Linked DNA regions of Homo sapiens: region 1 is linked to region 2. The links are contacts of gene promoters, found by promoter capture Hi-C in blood cells and fetal thymus (Javierre and others, 2016). All regions are on one chromosome and are shown on one strand. The core of a region is centred on a gene start or on the middle of the fragment in contact, and the rest is flanking DNA. Distances in the headings are between cores, read along the strand shown.

Region 1 (3,119 bases), core at 232-2,731, 340 kb before region 2:
ACTACATGGTGGAATTACCTGAAAAGCCAGGCAGCTCCTCCCTCCAGCCTCAGCTGAGATGTCATCTTCCCACAGGAAGTCTTCCCTGACCCTCGTCTGGGTAGACGTCCTTCAAGCATCACAGCATATACCACTAAGCTGTGCCATTGCCTGGCAGCCTAGCAGAAACTCCCATTCCCCCATCACCAAAACATGAACACTCTGAAGGCAGGGACTGGCCTTCTGTCTTTGTGTCCTCAGCGTCTCACACAACTAAACATATTTATAGATAAGTGTTACATGAACGATTTCTAAACAGTTGACTGCAATACAAGGCTGACAATATATGCTAAATAGAGATTTGACAACATGCTGGCTTTGTTGTAGAGAAAGGGCTGATTAATTTTGAACTATGAGGATAAAAAAGGCACCAAAGAGAAGGTGTGATTGCGGCTAAGCCCTATGGGATGCACAGGCTCTTGCCAGCCAGAGAAACAGGAGGAGAGCATGAGTCAGGAAAGTACATGCTTTGTTACAGCTAACATACAAAAGCCCACAGGGACTGGCGCATAGGACATGGAGGGAGGAGATGTAGGTGGTCAGGCGAGGAGGAGTCTTGGTATCGTGCTAAGCAAGGAGTGTCGTCTTTGTTCTGTAGACACAGAGACCCTCTGAGAAGTTTCCATGACAGGAGTCATCTAAACTGACCCGCATTTTGCAGAGGCTCTGCTGACGGCTGTGGGAAGGGTGTATTTTGGAGAGTTTATTTCTAGGAGTGTCCTCTCTTTGTCCTCTCTCCCCTGGAAGGGGGAGCTGGGGAAAGTTGGAGGGAAAGGGTGGAGCAGATAAATCAGTTAAGAAGCAATGTAATGTTAGGAGACTGGTGGCAATAACATGAATCAGAACAGGTACAGTGGGAATAAATAGAAAGAGGCAGAGTTGGTGACATGAGAGTGAGACTGAATTATCTACACAGAGTGGCTGGGAGGACATGAGAGAGGAGCAGGCTCCAGGAGTGGGGGAAGGGGAGGAGGCGTTCCATTCTGGGCTGCCATCAGCATGGGAGTAGAGGACGAATCTTAGATTTTCTCAATCCTGATTCATCTTGATAACAAGCTATGTGAGGACTTTGAGGAACCCATTTTGTTCAAAGCTTACACAAGTGACAAAATCTCTTCCTATTATGGAAACATCTCACAGAGCCCTCCCAGTTTTAACTACCACCATCCCACATACACCCACCACCATAGCAACCCACATGGTTGAGACACAGTGGGGTGTTGCCAGGAGAGGTAAGGTGTGGTGTGTACAGGGAGCCCCTGTCATCATCGGGATGACTTTATGTCCGTGAGAGTGGCAGCCCACACCCTAGCCTCTGAGCTGCTGGCTTTCCCCATCTCTGACAACCTTCTGTCCCACTGTGACTTGGCCACCCACTCCCATCACCACTCCCTAGACTTAGTCACCACCCAGAACTCCCTCACCTCTGAAATCACTAATCTTGATGGCCTTCTCTATACTCTCAGCTTCTCCACTCAATCACTTTGTCTACTCTTGACCTCTGACCCCATCAGGTACCCCGTCCATGGATCCCTCTGTTTTCTTTCAATCCAGCAGCCCCCTTTTTCCTGCATTCTCTTTTCTCACACCTGAGATGCACAGCTCAGAATTTTATTCATTCTCTCCTATAACATAAATTCCCCCTTGTTGCACCGCCTGCCAAAATTCCACCGGTGGATGAAGCAGCTGTCCTTTTCCTCTGAACTGCACTGGCATGACAGGTGATTCTGCAGGAGAAGGCCACAGTAGCAAGCTGGCCAGGTCCTCCAACACTGTGACCACCAAGCTTGGCTGGGTCCTCAGTGCTGCCTGCCATACATATTCTAGTCCTGGAAAAACCACCCTGGTAGACCGTATCCCTGTCCTCAAACTTTCCACATACTTACTTCCATCTGAATTCTCAGCAGATGTTATCTCCTACTCCTTTCAAAGATAAGACAGAAGCCAGCCAGGTGTGGTGGCTCATGCCTGTAATCCCAGCACTTTGGGAGGCTGAGGCAGGTGGATCACCTGAGGTCAAGAGTTCAAGACCAGCCTGACCAATATGGTGAAACCTTGTCTCTACTAAAAATACAAAAAAAAAATTATCTTGGGGTGGCGGCAGACGGCTGTAGTCCCAGCTACTTGGGGAGGCTGAGGCAGGAGAATCACTTGAACCCAGGAGGTGGAGGTTGTAGTCAGCCAAGATCGCGCCACTGCACTCCAGCCTGGGTGACAGAGGGAGACTCCATCTCAAAAAAAAAAAAAAGACAGAAGCCTTGAGGCAGTGAGTCTTCAGCCATCCTGCAGCTTCTCTTATCTACCGGCTGCACAGGTCCTCTCCACTTTGCCTCCTGGTTTAATGGAAGGCATACACTCTTCTATCTAATTTGCCCTCTTAGCTTCTGGATCCCAACCCTTGCTGCCATCTCAGGGACCTTGCCTATCCCCTCTTTTCCTTTATCTTCAGCTTCTCCCTCTTTACTCTCAGCTCCCCATCATTTAAACACATTCAAGTCTCTAATGTGAAATCGGGCCCTCCCTTGATTCTATCTCTTCCTCCAATGATTACCCTCTTCTTCCTAGGAAAACATCTCAAACACTTTCCATTTACGCCTCAACTCACTGTGATAGATTTTTCCTCCCTCACAAAATATAAATAAACTGCACCCAAACTACTAATGACCTTCTCCATACATTCAGTGAACAGTTTTAGCCCTCGCATGTTTGATTTTTCCACTGAGGGTCACTTCTTCTTTCTCCTACCCTTGGCTTCCATTACACTTTCCTGTTTGTCCTCCTCTACCCAAACCCTAAATATTGGACTTACTGTGACTGCCCTAGACCTGTCTCCTCTGTTTATTGCCCCTAAGCCACCCCCTGCACTCCTAATGCTTCAAGTGCTGCTCTAGGCTGGAAACTATGGAGGACACCTCTCTTCTAGACCCCTCCTGATCTTCAGATCCATGGGTTCAATTGCCTGTAGGGTTGACAGATTTAGCGAATAAAAACACAGGATGCCCAGTTAAATTTAATTTCAGATAAACAATGGATGCTTTTTTAGTATGAATATGCCCAATGCAATAGGACAGATTTATACT
Region 2 (2,981 bases), core at 56-2,555:
CTAATGCCAGTATTCTTTGTATGATTTACTGAGCCTCTCAAAAATTTTGAAACTCATGTTGAGTAAAATACATCCGACTGTGTTTAAAAAAAGCCAATTAAAACGACTATCAAATAACATAAACAGTAATTCCTGAAGTCAATGGTTTTGCTTTGAAGAGGCCAAAAAGGATAAAACAGCCACCAGAAGTCTACCATAGTCTTTACAGTGAATATGTCCAACTCTGTAACTTATCCTAAGGTAACTATTCCAACTACACATCATCTATAGCAACTATTCAGCATCCTCCAATGTGTAATCTCTTGTTCACTAGATCTTCTGCTACAAACCTCAAAGAAATCATTCTTTAAATTTCTTCAGCTCACACCATTTCCCATCCTTTTGTAAAAACAGAAGAAGACGTTATAAAACTTTGAAAATAAAAATGATAGGAAACGGTGGAAAAGTAGAGATGGCCTCTGCACCCAAGCTCTTTTCCTTTATACCTGATAACTTGTCATTTATCTCACCTACCTATCTTCATGTTCCTGGATAATCCAGGGTTCTTCCAACAGTTCAAATGGCTCTCTTACTAACAAATGTCAACGTCCTTATGTGACCATTCTGTTCCAGTCTCTGTACCATCCATTCAAGCCTGCTAGCTTTATCCTGCCAAAGAACCACGACGCTCCAAACTCACAAACCATTATACAAGCCCAACATATACTCTATGCCGTTCTCGTTACCAACACGCTCCAACCCAACGTAAAACCTTCCTAGTATCAACTCTTCCTTTATGAGCTTTTCCCATATTCCTACTCCCTCAACATCTACCGGCCCATACTCCCAAGTCTCTCTGCTAAACGCAATTCTAGCCCGGAGTCACACCCTCTACAGCCTAATTCCCGCAACCCCAAAACCCCACCCCCCTCATCACGCCCTCTGGGGCCTCAGCTAGGAACCCCAACACCCCGCCCCACGCCCGGCACGCCCTCCAGATCCCTTTAGGGTCCTTTCCGTCGGCCCGACCAGACCCCGTTCAGGCCTTCCAAGCGCCTAGGCTCTCCCGACCACCACTCAGTCCCCGCCTCCAGCCCCTCACCGAGTAGCAGCAGCTTCACTTCTTTGGCCGCTTTTTCCCCGTCCTCCCGTAAGTTGCGGTCGATCATCTTGCTTCGCTCCACTGCCGCCTTGTCTTCGGCGCTCAACGTGCAGCCCATGGCGGCGGCGGGAGAGGGGACACGGGCCCGGACTCACTCACACCACGGAAACTGCGGCTCGGCAGGCTGAGGCACCGTCTATTGCTGGGCGGTGGCCCTCTCCGTCAGCTCCCTTAGCGCCCAGAAGAACCGGATATCCGACGTTTACGACACTTCCGGCGACGCCCCGCAGCCTTCACCGTTTAAACCACTCTCCTCAGGGAGAGGAGTTGAGACCGAAAGCGGAAGTCACGGGGAGCTGGCGGCTGGGTTGGGCGGCGGATCTGCAGAGTTTCGAGGTTCTGTCAAGTTCGCTGCCCGCCGCCCAACTTGAAGCCTCATTTACCTTTCGGCTACCTGATTTGGATAAATGGAGAAAAACCGGGGCCTCTAACTCATAATGCCCTCCCGCGTTCAAGATGCCAGTTTTGGGGCGGAGATTTCTAAATTAAAGCCTACATCCCGCGCGGGAATATCTGCTGGTAATTTCTCGCCTGCCAGAAAACTCCTTTGATCTCTGGCTGTGGAGACTCGGGACCCCTACCCAAGTATGGGACACTGCCTCCGTTGGGGTTATCTCAGATCAATGGAATGGGAACAAGCTATCCGGCCTGGGCGCCGTTCACGTCTCACATCTGAGATCGTAACACCGACTGTGCTTAGGACCTCAGCAATAACTTTTTGCCGTCTCTGGCCCACTGACTCCTCTCAAAATGTCCCCTGGTCCTTTTGCTATTCACGTATTTCTGTGGGCTTGAGATTTGCTTAACTCCTATATTGGCAAAAGGCCACTTGAAATCGCTAGCAGATACTCGATAACCTGAAAGGTAAGCCTGTAGTTCCTCCATAAAATTTCCATGCTGCCCTTCTCTCCAGTATAATTCAGATCTTCCTACCTTAGGGTCTTAGAACTAAAACCAAGATAAGTCAACTTCAATTCCACACCCCGAAACAAACCAGTGCATCCTGTGAATCTCCTACTAAAATTTCCTGTTGCGATAACATGCAAAAGGAGAGGTTCTAGTAAAATTTGCCTCTCAGCCCTAGTATCACCTGAAACTTAAGTCCACTGTGAAAGTCCCAGGCAGATAGCATCTTTCACTAATAACCCTGGATACTGCGTGAAGGTAGTCCTAAATCAACTTTTCAGGCAAATAAGCCCACAATTACTATACGTTCTAGCGAAGGGAACTCAGTCCCTAAAACCTTTCCCTGTGATTGTAAATTTATTTCTCTAATAGAATCTGAACTTGAGAAAGTAAGGTCCCAACAGAGAGGTTTATATAGTGATGATTCATTAATTAGAAGGATTTAATTAGAGGATTAGAGCCACCTTAAAAAGCCTCGTCCACCTTAACTCTTAGCAATGCCAATTCTTCAAGGTTTGAAAAGTCCCCCAGTCATTCCCAAATGACTGTTAAGAATGAAAGGGACTGCTTTTCCATTATCAATACTTTTGGGGAAAAAGGGCAAGAGGAAAGGGAAGTAAAACCAGTATTTATTGAGTACCTATTTGCCAGATACGGCTAGGTGCTCCCACATCCCATCTCTTAATCCTCACAACAACCCTGTGAGGTAGGTAATAATGATCCCCATTTTTACAGGTGAGGAAGTAGGCTCAGAGAAATTAAGCAGCTTTCCCAACTTCACACAGTGAGTAAGTACATCTATCTGACCCCAGAGTTACCCTTTTCTATCATGCCCCCGTAGGATATTGCCTGGGGACACCTGACAACAGAAAGTCTAAGGTTTTCATCTAGGATTGGGAGTTACCCCAACACCAGCAGGATGCAGGAAAAAGTA

The links. Contacts are between HindIII fragments. The CHiCAGO score rates a contact against its expected background, and 5 or more counts as called.
Region 1: a contact is called between a fragment that was not itself captured here and the fragment with the promoter of GNAI3 in region 2, in 1 of 17 cell types (M2 macrophages). The highest score is 5.2, in M2 macrophages.

What each region holds. Positions count from the first base shown.
Region 1 is chr1:109,888,624-109,891,742 of GRCh38, reverse strand. All of the region lies in intron 4 of LINC01768 (long intergenic non-protein coding RNA 1768), which reads right to left. Among named protein-coding and RNA genes, the nearest start is that of CSF1, 21 kb to the left of the region's middle. RefSeq lists an enhancer at 1,202-1,496 and a cis regulatory region at 2,182-2,606. The HindIII fragment of the contact is 693 bases long and covers 1,135-1,827 here.
Region 2 is chr1:109,546,939-109,549,919 of GRCh38, reverse strand. GNAI3 (G protein subunit alpha i3) reads right to left here and starts at 1,305. Exons shown (of 9, transcript NM_006496.4): 1 at 1,082-1,305. The coding sequence starts at 1,199. GPR61 (G protein-coupled receptor 61) reads right to left here. Exons shown (of 2, transcript NM_001393907.1): 2 at 2,660-2,981. RefSeq lists enhancers at 1,019-1,188, 1,719-1,778. The HindIII fragment of the contact is 6,158 bases long and covers 1-2,981 here.